3 separate regions of the Homo sapiens genome follow, and regions 1 and 3 are each linked to region 2. The links are contacts of gene promoters, found by promoter capture Hi-C in human tissues and cell types (Jung and others, 2019). All regions are on one chromosome and are shown on one strand. The core of a region is centred on a gene start or on the middle of the fragment in contact, and the rest is flanking DNA. Distances in the headings are between cores, read along the strand shown.

Region 1 (3,491 bases), core at 632-3,131, 93 kb before region 2:
AGAATCGCTTGAACCCAGGAGGCGGAGGTTGCGGTGAGCGGAGATCATGCCATTTCACTCCAGCCTGGGCAACAACAGTGAAACTCCGTCTAAAAAAAAAAATGCTCTGCCTCACTAGCCTTAACTTTTTCAATCGGGAAACCTGCCTTTGATCACATTTCCTAAAGCAAAGATTGTTGTGAAAGAATAGAGTATCAAGAATTTTTGAATTTTGTTACCCCCACCAATAGATCACTAACTGGTTGTTTAAAGCAAATGATCTCCCACTTTCCTACCTTAATAGATGTAATATAATGTGTGTGCTTTAATCTTAGCTTGACCAGTAAACCATACCATGTCAAGAAATTTGCATGACATGTTTGAGGAACAGTGAGAGGGCCAGACCCACTGGAGCAAGAGAAAGAGAAAGAGAAGGGTAGGAAGAGAGGGCAGAAGAACATGGGGTAGAGTTGGCCAGGCATAGTGGCTCACGCCTGGAATCTCAGCACTTTGGGAGGCAGAGGGGGCAGATCATGAGGTCAGGAGATCGAGACCATCCTGGCTAACACGGTGAAACCCCGTCTCTACTAAAAATACAAAAAATTAGCCAGGCGTGGTGGTGGGTGCCTGTAATCCCAGCTACTCGGGAGGCTGAGGCAGGAGAATGGCGTGAACCTGGGAGGCAGAGCTTGCAGTGAGCTGAGATCCCGCCACTGCACTCCAGCCTGGGCGACAGAGAGAGACTCCATCTAAAAAACAAACAAACAAACAAACAACGACAACAAAAACACAACATGGCTGTTATTAAACATTTGCTGCTACTCTAAATAGGCTGAGAAGCCATTGGAGAGTTTGGAGTTGAGAAATGACATGAACTGATTTCACCTTAGTACAGATCACTCCAACTGTTGGGTTGAGAATAGAATGGAAGGGACAGGGGCAGAGGTGAAGGCAGAGGGACCAGGTAACTGATTCTGCCTATAATGAAGGTGAGAGAGGAAGGTGGCTGGGACTCAGGGTGTAGGAGTGAAGGTGCCAGGTATGAGGGTTAAATGATATATACACAGCATAATAATTGGCACAGTCAGTCCCCAGTAGATGTTCACTGCGATAATGGCATTCTGAACCCCAAGACTCAATAGTAGATGGTTGGTTCATTGCATGGCAGACCCAGGTAAGTGATTACAAACTAGATAGTTGATGTCAGAATTAGAAAAGGAACTTTTTGAACATTTCTGCATGTATCAATTGAAGTGAAATTGAGTCAAAAGTAAGAGTTCATGCTGCCCTTCACTGAATTCTCTGCTTGGATTTTTTTTTTTTTTTAAAGTACACACACACACACACACACACACACACACACACACACACAATCTGTGATCAAAAAAGTTATTGAAGTGCTGCAGTTGCCCAGAATTCAGCCTGACCTTGCAGCACTCCTAGTTATTAAAAATCATTTCTATGGGCTTGCATTTTTTGGTTTAACAAGCACAAGAGGCCATGAACTCTTAATATCTGAAGCAAACGTGTTAAACATCTGGGATCTGGCATAAGCTTCTCCTGTGGGATGCATTGTTTGTGCAAACTTTTATTGAATTAAAAAAAAAAGTAAGTACTGAGTTTCAAAATATTCGTGTAACCTAGTAAGAATATTTCTCTGAATCCAGAGTCAAAATACAGAGTTTTAAAAACTGATTTATAAACTTAAATTTAAAAATAGGTTAGAAGTCTTAAAACACAGCGTGGTTTTGAAGTGGAACCAAACTTCAGCTCTAGCTCTAACAGGAGATGGCTGATCTAAGTTAAATAGGTTTTTCCAGGCTAAAGGCACAGCTTCTGACCACTCTAAGAAAGCCATAGGGTTTGCAGACAGGGTACTGGCCTAGAGTTTAGGGCAAGTTCTGTGGCTTAAACACAGATAATCTTGGGCAACTTACTTTACCCTGGGCTTGATTTTCCTTATTTCCTATAGAAACTGGAAGGAAAAATACTTACCCATGGGTCTTAGAAATGTACGAGGATAAGAAATAAAATAAAATAGCAAGTGACAGAACTTTTAAAAGCTCTACACATAAGATGAGGAGGAGGAGGAGGAGGAGGGGGAGGGGGAGGGGAAGGAGGAGGAGGAGATAGGAGAGGGGGAGGGGAAGGAGGAGGAGATAGGGGAGGTGGAGAGGAGGAGAAGGAGGTGGAGGAGGAGGAGGAGGAGGAGGAGGAGGGGGTAAAACATAAGAGATTCCTATTTGAAGATGCAAAAGACCAAACAAACTGAACAAAGCTTTTTAAAGAAGAAAGACTAAGGGTTGTCTTTGGAGTGTTCCTCTAGGGAGGGACAACCTCTTGTATTCCTTTAGTATCTCCTTGAAGCACCCAGGGAAGCATTCAGACACAGGGGACAGTCTTATCAGTCTAGACTAACTGACAGACGGACAGGTCCCTCTCCACTTCCACAATCCATACCCTGAATATTCTGAGGAGTAGGGGAGAGCAAAGCCTGGCTCAGCCCACCCCATTGCCTCTGCTAGACTGAAGGACAGGAAATAGAGAAGGAGCCAGTCCTCCCCAAAGAGGGATAGGGATAGCTTTTTAAACTCACCTCTCCCTTCTGAGAGGAGGCTGCTATTCCTTGCAACGTATTTTTGTGCAGCTGAGGATCTGGAGGGGTTCTGACCTGAACAATGGGCTGGGAGCTGAGTTTGGGAGCTGGAGTTCTGCATAATAGAGTAGGATGAATTTGGAGTTTGGGGACTGTGTAGAAAGAGGAGATGAAGAAACAAGTTGAGCAGGGGAAAGGAAGGATGGGTGGTTGAAGTGGGAACCAGTGGAACGGCAGGGATGGAGGGCTGAAAAGCAGGTTCGCTTCTGTCCCACCTTCCACTCCCAAATCCTCAGGAAATTTGCCTACAGACCCAAATGCAAATGCACTGTATTAATTTCTAGGGCTGCTGTACAATGTACCACAAACCGAGTGGCTTAAAACAACAGACGTTTATTCTCTCACAGTTCTGGAGGCCAGAAGTCCAAAATCAAGGAGTCAGCAGGGCCATGCTCCCTCCAGAGGCTCTAGGGGAGAATCCTTCCCTGCCTCTTCCTAGCTTCTGTTGGTCATGTAAATCCTTGAAGTTCCTTGGCTTATAGCCTCAAAACTCCAACTCTGCTTCCATCTTTGTGTGGCCGCCCTCTTCTCTGTGTATCTTTGTGTGTCCTCTTGTAAGGACATCAGTCATTGGATTTAGAGCTCACCCTATTCCAGCATGACCTTATCTTAACTTGACTAATTACATGTGCAAAGATCCTGTTTCCAAATGAGGTCACGTTCTGATGTTCCACATAGACATATATTTTCAGGAGGACACTATTCAACTCACTACAGTGTTGTTTATTTTTGTTTTTATGGAAATTGAGTAAGAGGTAGAATCTCATGTCAGGGCCAACTGGCAAGGGACGATTGGATGGTGCGGGGCGAGGGGAGTTGTGGCAGTGGTAAAAATGGCCTGTGAACCAAACGAATT
Region 2 (3,942 bases), core at 51-2,550:
CGCCGGTGTTGTGCCTCAGCCTGAAACACAAGGAAAGCCGGAGAGACCAACCAAATACCAGGACTGCCTGTCACAGAAGTGCTGGTCCCCAATCCAGGATGACATTGTTACAGCTTAGTTTTCAGCACACACACACACACACACACACCCCACAGACACATACATACGCACACAAGGTTAATTTGTTCAAAGCAGTATGTTTTCAAGAGCTCGCTGAATAAAGACTGTGGGTGTCATTTAGGTAAAGTTCTCCAAGACTTAAGGATTACTTAACTGTAATTGCAATTTCCTTAAAGAATAGCAAAACATTTGCTTACATGTATCTCTGTCTGCAGTTCCCACTTCTCATTGGCTTGAAACTTCTGTGAGAATCCCACACAAACATAGAGCAAATCCAGCCCCGCGGTGTTCAGCTAGCCTGTCTGCTTGTCTATCAGCCGATGCGGCGCAGTAATTGCTAGTGAACTAGTAATTGGCCTCCCGAAATTTAAAAAATACATACAAAAATCCCTTAAAACGACAAAGTTGCTGCCCTTTCCAGAAAAGAAAGAGGAATGAAGCGCTGAGAATTTCGCAGCCCTCTCTGATGCTGGCTTTTGAAACTGTATTAGAAAATACCCACTCCCAAAAGAACGCTTCAAGATGGAAATTACAGAGGCGCAGCTTTTTATAATTAACAATATCATTGCATCACTAGCTCATGCCTTTTCCAATATCCTGACACCGCCTGAATCGCAGCCATAACCATTTTCCACCCATCGGATTTTTAGCAAGGCTTCCAGACCCTGGAGAAAGAAAAGTCCAGCGCCGAGAACCCACCTTTTTATTCCTGGCATGTCCAAGACGCGCGAGGAGGAGATGCGAAGGCGAGAAGAAAGCTCGCGGGCGGGACCCCCGGAGGAGCTCGGGCACGTCGGCCTCCTCTGGGCCCTCGGGGCTCGCGGGTGTTTTATTCCAGAGGGGCCGAGCGAGTCGTGGAGAGGACACGGGGAGAGCGCCGGGGTCCTCCCAGCCACTGCAGAGCCCTCAGCGCAAGCACCTGGTTTTGCTTAGCCCTCTTCAGTAATTCAGCATTAAACCAATTGGAGGAGGAATGTTAAAAATGAACACTTCATTTTCTAAGTATGTTAAACAATGCAAATGGGGCCTCAGTCTGGACACAGCTGGTTCAGATTACAGCGCTCACCAACTGGCTAGACTCCTCACAACAATCTTGGGGCGTCTGCCAGGGCCCAGTGCTCGGCGCTGGGAGGAGAGCCCTTCCCCGGCCGCGCTCGGCTGCGAGCGCCCGGGCAGAAGGCGAGGGGCGGGCGCGCGCAGGGGTGCGGGGGCTGGGAGGGCCCGGGCCCCTTGACCTTCCCACCCAGGGGCGGGGCGGGGCTGGCAGCGCGGCCCGGCGGGGAGGGGCGTGCACGCCCGCGCTGCGTGGCAAGGGGACCCGCGAGAACGTTGTCGCCTCCGGAAGGAAAGGGACTTGAACTCACGACCCACGCAGCTCCAGGGACTAGAAACTCACGATCGATTGGGAAACCAGAACCTACGAAGCAGAGGCTTGGGGCGAGCGACGGGAGAGTCGCGATCTTCCCGAAGAAGGGGTGGGGAGCAGCGGGGTGGGGTGGGGGGGAAGAGGATGGAATCCCGCTGGTGCGAATTCCAGACTTCAGCTTGTGCAATGCAAGTCTTAGGACGCTTTTCTCTCCCCGCCCTCATTCCCCGATTCTCCCTGGCATTTTCTCGCTTTCCTGGAAAAGTGTCCCCTGGCTCGAAAGTGATTTTAACAAGTTAAACGGTGATTTGAAGAAGGGACAGTCTGGAAAAGCAGAATGGTGGAGACAGCACATAAGACATGCTGAGTCCTTTGCATTCATTCTAGTGGAGGCTTCAACCTGTTTCTTTTTCCTGTTTGTTTGTTTGTTTGTTTGTTTGTTTTTAAGCCATTGGAGTACTTTTGTCAATGAAATCTTACAGAAGGCACTCACTCTATAAAACGCCAGTGGATGGACTGTGGCCTATCCCATCTGCTTCCACCTGCATCTTCCTACCTGCAGCCGAAAAGCCCTGATCCAGGTCCCCTGTCCTCACCACCACTCTAAGCAGTAGGAATGATCATCTCCATGTTATTAGAGGTGAAGATAAGAGAGGTTAGGTAACCTCCCCATAGTCACGCAGCTATTCATTGGTACAGCTGAGCCTCTGGAGTCTACATATTTAGCCTTCCCTAAGGCATTTTTGGGGGTAAGTAAATGGAATTCTACCCAAAGGAGAATAACAGAATGTGGATAGTTGTTGAAGCTGTGTCCATTATACTAGTCTAATCTATTTCCTTTTACGTGTTTGAAATTTCCTGTAAAACACTTTTTTAAATACCTTATGTTTATAAGGTTGTTCATCCCCCCATTGTTTGTAAAAGCAAAAGATTATAAACACCTTTAAGGTCGATCAGCAAGGCACCAATAGGGTTAAATAAAGTAAGGGGCTTCCAAAGGGACTATTGTGCAACCAATTAAAACCTAGACACTTAAGAGTCCACATCAAACGACTCCATTTATATAAAATTCAAAGTCAGATAGTGACTGGGAGGCAGCCCAGCCCCTTCTGGGTGCTGGTAATAATCTAATGATTGATCTGGATGCTGGTTATGTAGGGGTGTGTACATTTAATATTTGTGAAGTCTTATGTATGTTATATCTTATTTTGAAAAAAAGACTGAAACAGCTCCGTATGCACTGCTATTGAAGGGTTTCCAATATATTTTGTGGGTCAAAACAGTAGAATATTGGTAATTTCACATAGATTGATCTAATATAGTAATAAATGTAAAAAGTAAGCTGCAGAACTGTGTGTAAAGCATGCCATCATTTGTGGGAAAAAAAATAAATACATAAGTTCTTGCTTGTACACGTACAGAAAAGACATCACCTGAAGGATGCACAAGAAACCATGAGTATTATTGGTCTTAGCTCAGGCTGCTATAACAGAATACCATAGACTGGGTGGTTTATGCAATAACATTTATCTCTCCCAGTTCTGGAGGCTGGAAGTCTGAGATCAGGGTGTGGGCATAGCCAGGTTCTCATGAGGGTCCTCTCCTGGTTGCAGATGACTGTCTTCTTGCTATGTCCTCACATGATGGAGAGAGGGAGACTAGGGTTCCTTTTTTTGAGATGGAGTCTCACTCTCTCGCCCAGGCTGGAGTATGGTGGTGTAATCTCGGCTCACTGCAAGTTCTACCTCCCAAGTTCAGGCAATTCTCCTGCTTCAGCCTCCCAAGTAGCTGGGATTATAGGCACGCACCACCGTGCCTGGCTAATTTTTGTATTTTTAGTAGAGATGGGGTTTTGCCATGTTGGCCAGGCTGGTCTTGAACTCCTGGGCTCAAGCAATCCATGGGCCTCGGCCTCCCAAAATGCTGAGATTACAGGCTTGAGCCACCGCGCCTGGCCAGAGACTGGGATTCCTTTTATAAGGGCACTGGTCCCATTCGTGAGAGCTTCACCCTCATGATCTAATCACCTGCTGAAGGCCTCATCTCCTAGAGCCATCACCTTGGGGATTCAGATTTCAACATATGAATCTGGGGGTTTAAACATATGGTCTGTAACCATCTCCTAGGAGGGAAATCAGGCAGACAATTGGAAAAGAAATAGGAGAGGAAAATTCGCTCCTCATTGCTCACTTTTTGGCATAACTTGAATTTTGTACCTTGTACCTGTATTACCTATTCAAAATATGAGTAATATTCAAAATAATAAAACTTAAAATATCTGATGTAGAACTAGTTGTGGGGGTAGGAAGAGTTTTAAGGGACTCAGTCCATTCACCTCGCAGATACTGTCAACCTTCTTGAAGAACACGGAAGGAGAGGAAATCAATATACCTGTTTCCTACATAGGCAAATTGAGACCGTTGGAAGCAAAACTGTCCCGGGACCCATCTTGGATG
Region 3 (3,522 bases), core at 134-2,633, 120 kb before region 2:
TTTATGATATGTGACAAGTAGTATTCTCCTATTCTACTGGTGGGACTGTAAAATGGCATGACCACTTTAGAAAACAGTTTGACAAGTTTCTAAAGTTGAACATATACCTGCTACATGATCCAGACATGCCATTACTACATATTTACTTAAGAAAAAAGCAATCACATGTTTACACAAAGAGTTGTACACTGGTGTTCATAGCAAATCTATTCAAAATAGCCAAAAATTGAAAACTATCAAGTATCTATCAACAGATTAATCCATTTAGAAAACAAACTGTGGCTCAATGGAACACTACTCAGAAATAAAGAAGTAAGCTGGTTAAACATGCAACAATATGGATGAATCTCAAAATAATTATGCTGGGCAAAAGAATGCCAACAAAAAGAGTATGTGCCATACAGATATGTGCCATATTCTCTTGCATTTGCTTTATTAATAACAAAGTCATATTTCAGTTCTTATTTTGTCTTTAATTTGGCTTTTCTAGCTATCTTATTAATACTGATTTGTAGCTGAACTCCACTGCATGATTCAATTTATATAAAATTGTAGAAAATGGAAATTAATCAATAGTAACAAAAAGTAGATCAGAGGCTGCCTCGGGACAGTGAGGAGTGGGGAGATGAAGCACAGAGAGGGACAGAAAGGAAGGACTTGGTGGGGCAGGAGGAAACTTTGGAGTGGGGGTAATATACTCATTATCTTTTTTTTTTTTTTTTTTGAGACAGTGTCTCGCTCTGTCGCCCAGGCTGGAGTGCAGTGGCGTGATCTCTGCTCACTGTAAGCTCTGTCTTCTGGGTTCACGCCATTCTCCTGCCTTAGCCTCCCAAGTAGCTGGGACTACAGGTGCCCACCACCACGCATGGCTAATTTTTTGTATTTTTTAGTAGAGACGGGGTTTCACCGTGTTAGCCAGGATGGTCTCGATCTCCTGACCTCGTGATCCGCCTGCTTCAGCCTCCCAAAGTGCTGGGATTACAGGCATGAGCCACCGTGCCGAGCCTATACTCATTATCTTGACTGTGGTGATGGTTTCATAGGTACATACATACATGAAAACATGAAAACATCAAATTATCGATTTCAAGTATATGTAACTTACTACATATCAATTAGACCTCAATAAACCTGAAAAAATAATACATAAGTAGAATTACAGAACATTAACAGAAAAAGAGGCCTCAAAAACATTAGCAGAGCCGAAGGCTTAGAAATCATTTTATCAGGGGCCAGGCATGGTGGCTCATGCCTGTAGTCCCAGCACTTTGGGAGGCCAAGGCGGGTGGATCACCTAAGGTCGGGAGTTCGAGACCAGCCTGACCAACCTGAAGAAACCCCATCTCTACTAAAAATAAAAAATTAGTTGGGCATGGTGGCACATGCCTGTAATCCCAGCTACTCAGGAGGCTGAGGCAGGAGAACCACTTGAACCCGGGAGGCGGAGGTTGCAGTGAGCCGAGATCACGCCATTGCACTCCAGACTGGGCAACAAGAGCAAAATTCCATCTCAAAAAAAAAAAAAAAGAAAAAAGAAATCATTTTATCAAAGTCCTTCTAATTTTACCCAAAGAAAATAATGAGTCAAGCAACTAGATAATGTTAGGTTTAGAACCAAACCCTAAGCTTCACAACTTTTTCTAATACACCACATTGCTTTAGGTAGGGTATGGGTAGAAGGGCAGGACCAGTCAGGTTAACAGACTATGTGCTGGCTATCTACATAGCCACATGTTTGCTTTTTTAGCAACAAGGAGAAACAAATATAAATGGTTAAAAGTATACTGCCTATGTTCCAATCCTGTAACTTTCACTTATTAGCTATATGACCTTAAATCTGTTACTTAACCTTTTTAACCTTCAACTTCTTCATCAATTAAAAAACAACAACAACAACAACAACAAAACACTTCTTAGGGCTATTGTGATGATCAACCAAAGTAATGCACATAAAGTATAAAACTAGTGGTAGGGCTGTTTTAAGAATAAATGTTTGCTGTCATCAGCGGCATCATTATTATATTTATTATCATCAGATCCCACTTACAACAGATCTGATTCATGCTAGGCACTTTACCCAATGCCAGAAATGATATGGGGACATTTAGCTAGAACATTCTAGTATGAGGACAGATTGTAAAAAGACTTAAATACTTCCATATCAATAGATAAAAGCTATAAACACCCTAGTCACTTTAACTCCTCCCTAGGCACCCCTGAGGTAAATGTCTGAAAAAGCAGGGGCCTCCATGACTCTGCTCCAATATTACAGTCAGTGCTCATGCACGACAAGTTGTTAAAATACTTTTAATATCACTTCCTTTTGAGATTCCCAAAGGGCTTATTTGCCTCTGCTGGTCTGACATAGTCTAGGAACAGCCTGTCTATGGTATTCTCACAAATAAAGGACAGTACATCATCACGACTTTCCCCTGCAAACCTGCTTTTCCTCTGGTATTTCCTACTACAGTGCCACTATCCAGCTAATTAACTAAGCCAGAAATACAAGTGCCATTCTTGAGTCCTTCTGCTCCCAAAATCCACACATCCAATTCATCCATTCACTTACAAGCATTTATTGAGCATCTACTATGTACTAGGCAATTTGCTAGGCACTGAAGACAAAATAGGGAACAAGACAGACAAGCTTTTGGAGCGCTTACAACAGAGGAGGGAGATAAACAGAAAAATAAACAAACACATGATACATTCAATCCAATGAGGAAAATTAACCAGGATTCAAAAGGAATGAATGTTAACTTTGTATAATCAGAAAAGACTTCTCTGAGGAGGTAACAATCCAGCTGGAACATAAACACAAGAAAGGATCAGCTAGCAAAGTTCTTGATGGTGGAGCATTCCAGAAATTGCAAAAATCTTGAGTTGTACCCACTTTGCATTATTTTGCAAGGTACTAAGCAACAGAAAGAGTAGTTAGCAGGTGAACTGTGAAATAGGCAAGGGCTAGAATTCTGTTGAGTAGAGCCCCTTAATCCTTGTAATTTTCTTTTTCTTTTCTTTTTTTTTTTTTTTTTTTTTTTTTTGGAGATGGAGTCTCGCTCTGTCATCCAGGCTGGAGTGCAGTGGTGCGATCTTGGCTCACTGCAACCTCCGCCTCCGGATTCAAGCAATTCCCTGCCTCAGCCTCCTGAGTAGCTGGGATTACAGGCACCCGCTACCATGCCCGGCTAATTTTTGTATTTTTAGTAGAGACGGGGTTTCACCATCTTGGCCAGGTTGGTCTTGAACTCCTAACCTCGTGATCCACCCGCGTCGGCCTCCCAAAGTGCTGGGATTACAGGTGTGAGCCACCGCGCCTGGCCATCCTTGTAATTTTCACACCTTCCTTTCTATTCTCAATTTGACTATTTTGATTCAGATGTTATGATACCCCAAATTACAGAGAGCCAGCTAATAGGTTTGCCTTTCAAATTCTTTTTATCCCCCCACTGTGCTGCTAAGGTCCTTCGTCTGCTTTAAGTAATGCTATATCTCTCTATCACTTTCAGGATAAAATTTATT

What was found. Contacts are between HindIII fragments. The study calls those that stand out against the background at their distance.
Region 1: a contact is called between a fragment that was not itself captured here and the fragment with the promoter of FBLN5 in region 2, in 2 of the 25 tissues and cell types used here (adrenal gland and bladder).
Region 3: a fragment that was not itself captured here is called in contact with the fragment with the promoter of FBLN5 in region 2 in 2 of the 25 tissues and cell types used here (mesenchymal stem cells and small bowel).

The regions. Positions count from the first base shown.
Region 1 is chr14:91,852,340-91,855,830 of GRCh38, forward strand. The region is part of intron 1 of TC2N (tandem C2 domains, nuclear); the gene reads right to left. Among named protein-coding and RNA genes, the nearest start is that of TC2N, 13 kb to the right of the region's middle. The HindIII fragment of the contact is 4,085 bases long and covers 1-3,491 here.
Region 2 is chr14:91,946,394-91,950,335 of GRCh38, forward strand. FBLN5 (fibulin 5) reads right to left here and starts at 1,301. Exons shown (of 11, transcript NM_006329.4): 1 at 820-1,301. The coding sequence starts at 836. The HindIII fragment of the contact is 12,789 bases long and covers 1-3,942 here.
Region 3 is chr14:91,822,009-91,825,530 of GRCh38, forward strand. All of the region lies in intron 1 of TC2N (tandem C2 domains, nuclear), which reads right to left. Among named protein-coding and RNA genes, the nearest start is that of TC2N, 44 kb to the right of the region's middle. The HindIII fragment of the contact is 3,467 bases long and covers 1-3,117 here.